2 separate regions of the Homo sapiens genome follow, and region 2 is linked to region 1. Evidence: promoter capture Hi-C in 16 types of primary human blood cells and fetal thymus (Javierre and others, 2016). All regions are on one chromosome and are shown on one strand. Each heading gives the region's core, a stretch centred on a gene start or on the middle of the fragment in contact. The rest is flanking DNA. Distances are from core to core; before and after follow the strand shown. Region 1 holds the start of CRP (C-reactive protein). Region 2 has its middle 20 kb from the start of ACKR1.

What was found. Contacts are between HindIII fragments. The CHiCAGO score rates a contact against its expected background, and 5 or more counts as called.
Region 2: a contact is called between a fragment that was not itself captured here and the fragment with the promoter of CRP in region 1, in 5 of 17 cell types (endothelial precursors, M0 macrophages, M2 macrophages and 2 more). The highest score is 10.9, in endothelial precursors.

Annotation. Positions count from the first base shown.
Region 1 is chr1:159,712,579-159,716,156 of GRCh38, reverse strand. It overlaps CRP (C-reactive protein), which reads left to right and starts at 1,568. Exons shown (of 2, transcript NM_000567.3): 1 at 1,568-1,732; 2 at 2,019-3,578. The coding sequence starts at 1,672. The coding sequence ends at 2,632. The HindIII fragment of the contact is 4,063 bases long and covers 668-3,578 here.
Region 2 is chr1:159,223,208-159,226,846 of GRCh38, reverse strand. No RefSeq gene overlaps it. Among named protein-coding and RNA genes, the nearest start is that of ACKR1, 20 kb to the right of the region's middle. The HindIII fragment of the contact is 1,523 bases long and covers 809-2,331 here.

The DNA.
Region 1 (3,578 bases), core at 319-2,818:
TTCTCCTTTAAGTAAATTTTCAGGTAGGCAGCCTAGAGCTGATGCAGTGGCTCCATACCCAATTATCCAGGCTCCATCTATCTTGTTGCCATGCCAACCTCAACATGCAGCTTACACTTGCTGGCCTGAAAGTGAACTATTCCATCTCCTGCTATCATGACTGAATACTAGTCAAAGGGAAAAAGGGGGAAGTGGGAGGGGAAAGCACATACCTTTCTTAAAGAGCACAACCTAGAGATGGTCCCTATTCTGTTCATATCTCGTTGGCCTTAATTTAATCACATCATCACTGCAAGCTACAGTGGGGGCTGGGAAATTTGGTGTTTGAGGGGATGACCAAGCGCCCAACTGAAAATGTTATTCTTCTCTTATGAGAAGTAGAGAATGGATGTTAGGGAATGGCTAGAAGACTCTACTACAAAGGATACGGTGGTTCTTTTCTGATTGCTTCTAACTTCTCAATGAAAGGTGAGTTCATCAGCTGAATGAAAGAATAAATGAGATTTTGGGGACTTGAGGAGCAAGGAGAAGGAGTATAATAGTCATTTTGAAGAGTGAGTTAAGTAGGGAACTGTAGTAAGATTGACAGACAGTGTGGAGGGATTACTTGAATCTTGTGAATAGAGGAAAGAGTAGAATCAGATTATCCTGACTCCTGCCTGAAGCTTTACATATTCAGAGAAAAATGTTGGAAGAAACTTTGATATAATGCTATGTCTGTGATCAGGCACACATTTTACTGGACTTTTACTGTCAGGGCCGTCATTTAGTGCCAAGATGTCTAGAGAGTTCTTAATAAGTGTACTCAATTGGCTGAGAAAATGTGTCCATGCAAAAAACCAAACACCGCGTGTTCTCACTCATAGATGGGAATTGAACAATGAGAATACTTGGACACAGGAAGGGGAACATCACACTCTGGGGACTGTTGTGGGGTGGGGGGAGGGGGGAGGGATAGCATTAGAAGATATACCTAATGCTAAATGATGAGTTAATGGGTGCAGCACACCAGCATGGCACATGTATACATATGTAACTAACCTGCACATTGTGCACATGTACCCTAAAACTTAAAGTATAATAATAATAAAAAAATGTGTCCATGGCTCTGGGAGGAGCATGTTTGTTTTCCTCATTTCCCAGTCTGTAAATAAGCAAATTGAAAGGGGTTAGTGATAATGTCCATCTCCAGAAGCTGTCAGATTTCCTTTGTCAAACTCTATGATTTGGGCTGAAGTAGGTGTTGGAGAGGCAGCTACCACGTGCACCCAGATGGCCACTCGTTTAATATGTTACCATTTCCCATTATTTTCGCAGGATAGATAGCCAAAGTGGAGCCCTGAGAGATTTCTTCATTTTTCCTGTCATAAAGAATTGGTAATTCAGTAGTCATAGGAGTTTGTAATAAATAACTCACATTGATTTCTCTGTTCTGAAATAATTTTGCTTCCCCTCTTCCCGAAGCTCTGACACCTGCCCCAACAAGCAATGTTGGAAAATTATTTACATAGTGGCGCAAACTCCCTTACTGCTTTGGATATAAATCCAGGCAGGAGGAGGTAGCTCTAAGGCAAGAGATCTAGGACTTCTAGCCCCTGAACTTTCAGCCGAATACATCTTTTCCAAAGGAGTGAATTCAGGCCCTTGTATCACTGGCAGCAGGACGTGACCATGGAGAAGCTGTTGTGTTTCTTGGTCTTGACCAGCCTCTCTCATGCTTTTGGCCAGACAGGTAAGGGCCACCCCAGGCTATGGGAGAGATTTGATCTGAGGTATGGGGGTGGGGTCTAAGACTGCATGAACAGTCTCAAAAAAAAAAAAAAAAGACTGTATGAACAGAACAGTGGAGCATCCTTCATGGTGTGTGTGTGTGTGTGTGTGTGTGTGTGTGTGTGTGTGGTGTGTAACTGGAGAAGGGGTCAGTCTGTTTCTCAATCTTAAATTCTATACGTAAGTGAGGGGATAGATCTGTGTGATCTGAGAAACCTCTCACATTTGCTTGTTTTTCTGGCTCACAGACATGTCGAGGAAGGCTTTTGTGTTTCCCAAAGAGTCGGATACTTCCTATGTATCCCTCAAAGCACCGTTAACGAAGCCTCTCAAAGCCTTCACTGTGTGCCTCCACTTCTACACGGAACTGTCCTCGACCCGTGGGTACAGTATTTTCTCGTATGCCACCAAGAGACAAGACAATGAGATTCTCATATTTTGGTCTAAGGATATAGGATACAGTTTTACAGTGGGTGGGTCTGAAATATTATTCGAGGTTCCTGAAGTCACAGTAGCTCCAGTACACATTTGTACAAGCTGGGAGTCCGCCTCAGGGATCGTGGAGTTCTGGGTAGATGGGAAGCCCAGGGTGAGGAAGAGTCTGAAGAAGGGATACACTGTGGGGGCAGAAGCAAGCATCATCTTGGGGCAGGAGCAGGATTCCTTCGGTGGGAACTTTGAAGGAAGCCAGTCCCTGGTGGGAGACATTGGAAATGTGAACATGTGGGACTTTGTGCTGTCACCAGATGAGATTAACACCATCTATCTTGGCGGGCCCTTCAGTCCTAATGTCCTGAACTGGCGGGCACTGAAGTATGAAGTGCAAGGCGAAGTGTTCACCAAACCCCAGCTGTGGCCCTGAGGCCCAGCTGTGGGTCCTGAAGGTACCTCCCGGTTTTTTACACCGCATGGGCCCCACGTCTCTGTCTCTGGTACCTCCCGCTTTTTTACACTGCATGGTTCCCACGTCTCTGTCTCTGGGCCTTTGTTCCCCTATATGCATTGCAGGCCTGCTCCACCCTCCTCAGCGCCTGAGAATGGAGGTAAAGTGTCTGGTCTGGGAGCTCGTTAACTATGCTGGGAAACGGTCCAAAAGAATCAGAATTTGAGGTGTTTTGTTTTCATTTTTATTTCAAGTTGGACAGATCTTGGAGATAATTTCTTACCTCACATAGATGAGAAAACTAACACCCAGAAAGGAGAAATGATGTTATAAAAAACTCATAAGGCAAGAGCTGAGAAGGAAGCGCTGATCTTCTATTTAATTCCCCACCCATGACCCCCAGAAAGCAGGAGGGCATTGCCCACATTCACAGGGCTCTTCAGTCTCAGAATCAGGACACTGGCCAGGTGTCTGGTTTGGGTCCAGAGTGCTCATCATCATGTCATAGAACTGCTGGGCCCAGGTCTCCTGAAATGGGAAGCCCAGCAATACCACGCAGTCCCTCCACTTTCTCAAAGCACACTGGAAAGGCCATTAGAATTGCCCCAGCAGAGCAGATCTGCTTTTTTTCCAGAGCAAAATGAAGCACTAGGTATAAATATGTTGTTACTGCCAAGAACTTAAATGACTGGTTTTTGTTTGCTTGCAGTGCTTTCTTAATTTTATGGCTCTTCTGGGAAACTCCTCCCCTTTTCCACACGAACCTTGTGGGGCTGTGAATTCTTTCTTCATCCCCGCATTCCCAATATACCCAGGCCACAAGAGTGGACGTGAACCACAGGGTGTCCTGTCAGAGGAGCCCATCTCCCATCTCCCCAGCTCCCTATCTGGAGGATAGTTGGATAGTTACGTGTTCCTAGCAGGA
Region 2 (3,639 bases), core at 321-2,820, 490 kb after region 1:
AACTCTGCCTCCTAGTGAGAGTGCACCCCAGTGCTCAGCCATTCATCTTTAAGTCTTCATCTTAATGACCAGCAGACAGTGCTAATAGCTACATCACTTTCAGTGTGGGGCACAAGCCATTATAATATCTCCCAGAGACATCTTCCTTCACTTCCTTTTCACTGGAAGTAATTACTGTCTTCTTTTAGCAGCCACATCACTTTATAGTGTCCATAAGAGTCCATATAAGAGTCCATACCATCATTCACTTCCCAGCACACACTATGGCTTCCTACATAAACATCTTATTTACTCTGCTACACTCTTCACTCCTTGAGTGAACTGTTGATGTCTTATTCAGTTTGCACCTGGTTATGCACTCTATAAGTATCTGCTGATTGAAGAGAAGAATGAATGAGTGTATACTTGAAGTATTTAGGATCAAGCCCCTGCAGAGAGACATAATTGAATTCAACTCAAGTAAATTTTGAATGATGAAATGTACCTGGCACTATACCATATATACCATTATAGGAGACCCAAAACATATGTCATAGTCTCTTAAGCTTTTTTGGACAGGCAAGACTTATACTCATGAAGAAATTATACCTGCGGGGGGAAAATGGAAATGAGGTAAGAGAGTACTGGCAGTCCTCAAATTAGAATGTTCTTCCAAAAATTCATTTAAGTTGGTTGTTTGAAGTTTGGAGTAACTCTATCTATGAAAACATTGTCATCAGCTTTATAATATGTTTCCAATATTGGTCCACAATATTTTGCCAGAAAAGTCAAAGATGGGAAGGACTTTAGAATTTATCTACTCAAAGCTTCTCATTTTATAGAAGAGACAGTATGACTTTCCTAAGATCACACAGTGAGTAAGCTGAAACTAGAATTCTCATTTTAGCAACACTCAGTAGTAGTAATAGAAAAGCAATCATCACGACAGGGAACTGTACTTGTGTAAATATTTATCAAATGTCCATTATGTGGCAGACTGTGCAAATGCCTTTTTACCCAAAGCACCATCCTTGACGATCCTCTCCTTCCTCTGCCCTCTTTGATTTACATTCTGCTGATTTTACTACTTCTATATTCCTCTGATCCATCCTCTTCTCCCCAACTCTACCATCACTTTTTTAGTTAAGGTCACTTCCTCTCTTATCTGGCCAATTACAGCAGCTTCCCAGTTTGCTCTCCCAAGTCCTTTGTCTCTAGAACCTCCAAAGTGATCTATGTATGACATTTAAGAAACAAACTATATCATTACATTTCTCTGCTTAGAACTTTCATATGAGTCCACTTTGCCTACCAGATGAAATGCAGGCTCCCTAACTTGTTCTACAAAGTTCTCCATTGTCTACTGCCTGTGCGCCTCCCCTGTCACTCCCCGCCTCCCACTTCAAGCAATGACAATACAGACCTGCTTGCCATTCTCTGCTCGACCATGATATTTTTCCTCCCTCTTCTAGCTCACATTCTCACCTCTCTCTGAAGTGCCCACCTCCGTTCTCAGCTCACCTGCCTAGGTCCTATTTGTCCTTTGGTAACAGAGGTATCCACTTCCCTCTGTCTCTATGTTGCTTCAGTCTGGCTCCTGAGAAGAGGTTTTTTTAGCTCTTTATTCACTAGATGGTGATAGAAAAGAACTCAAAACAATTTTTCCACTACCCTATTAGGTGACCAGGGATTTTCTAAAATCTTAGTATGTCCAGGAGCATTACTTGAGTGAGTCAAATCAGAGAATCCATGATATAACTGGACCCATTGCATTGACTGAAGAATTGATACGTATCTGAGGCAGAGATCGGACTGCATGTGATAACTGTGTCCCTAGAGAACAGGAATGGTCAGAGCTTGAGATGTTGACTGGCCAGCTGCCCTTCTAGGAAGATTGTCCCTAGAAGCCACTGCTGGAATGATCCTCTAGTGTAGGCACTGCTTCCAAGCAGCCTGCTCTCTTGTCCACCAACCTTTACCTCTTATGGTCCAGTGTCCTGCCTAGCTCTTTAAATGGCTTCTTCAGGGACTCATGACCCTAACAGCTTTTTTTTCTCCTGTGTTCCCCTGAGATCCTCTCAGACTTCTCCCAACAAGAACTGAGTCCAGCCTCCTTACATAATAGGGGTGTTGGTCTACTGGGAACCAGATATTTGCCCCAAAGCCTATTTACATGTGATTGCATAGGCCAACCACAGCTACCTAGCAATTTCCCGTCCAGCCTTTAAACCCAAAGGCTGATCATGTTCCCAGTAAGCGGAAATAAGGGTTCATTTTGCACCAAAATGATATTTCTCCAATAAAAATGAAATTGGATGACATTCATTTACAACAGGGTGTTCTTATGAAGCTTTAAGACTTAGTTCAGCATCACTGCTGACATGAAGCCACTCTGACAAGCAGGTCTTCCCCCACTCCTCTCTGTCTGGGCTGAGTGCCTTCACTCTGTGCCTTGTAATAAGCAGACCAATATCTCCATCACTGTGCTGACCACATTGTGTTGCAATGATCTGTTTATACACCTGTTTCCACCATATCTGTGAGCTTTTTGATAGCAGGGGAGATCTTATTCATCTTTACATTTTTTATCCTAACAACAGTGTCTGACACAAAGTAGATGCTCAATAAGTAATTGTCTTACTGTATTTCACTGACTTCCTTTGATAGCTGGAGTAAATCAGAGAGCTGACCTCTTCCCTCAGGAAAGTTATATACAATTTAACCTTGTTATTAGTATGGCAAAGAGCCATCCTTTTCTGAGGGTTCTTTTCTGATGCCTCCTAGGAAGGTGCCTCCTAGATGAGGCACCAAGAATTACTATGCAGATGAACGATACATAGAAATGTGTCTAGCAGGCCGGGTGCAGTGGCTCACGCCTGTAATCCCAGCACTTTGGGAGGCCAAGGCGGATGGATCACCTGAGGTCAAGAGTTTGAGACCAGCCTGGCCAACACGGTGAAACCCCATCTCTACTAAAAATACAAAAGATTAGCCTGGCATGGTGGTGCATGCCTGTAGTCCCAGCTACTCGGGAGGCTGAGGCAGGAGAATCTCTTGAACCTGGGAGGTGGAGGTTGCAGTGAGCCAAAATCACACCATTGCACTCCAGCCTGGGCGACAGAGTGAGACTCCATCTCAAAAATAAATAAACAAACAAACAAATAAATAAATAAATAAGAAGGAAAGAAAAGAAAAAGAAATATGTCTAGCACACCAACAACAAACAGCTCAGACTGGCTGAATGGCCAGCCAGAGGTGTGATGATTTAAGTCAGTTAGATGTCTCTGGTAAGAAGTTTACAAGAAGTAAGGGTATTTTACATTTTCCCTCAGGTTTCTGGAGGAGGGGCACACTTTGCGGAAGGGTGGCGGGTACTCTGACCGATAGCACACAGAATCAAATCCCAAAAGGTCTTTAACGGTTATTTCTTTCAAGAGAACTTCATATTAAGCAATAATCCTACAGTCTAGATAATAATTTATTTTAAAAATAATAATAATCCAGCAGAGCCCTAGGCACATATGAAAGGCATTTACAATAGGGAGTCTTCCAGGAACTTTTATTCTTACAGAGGAGATAAGGCACGTGCATGTGCAATTGGTACACAGATATCTTTCTAGTTGCTTTTCTCTGAATTGCAAAAATTGGCAGAGGCAAGAT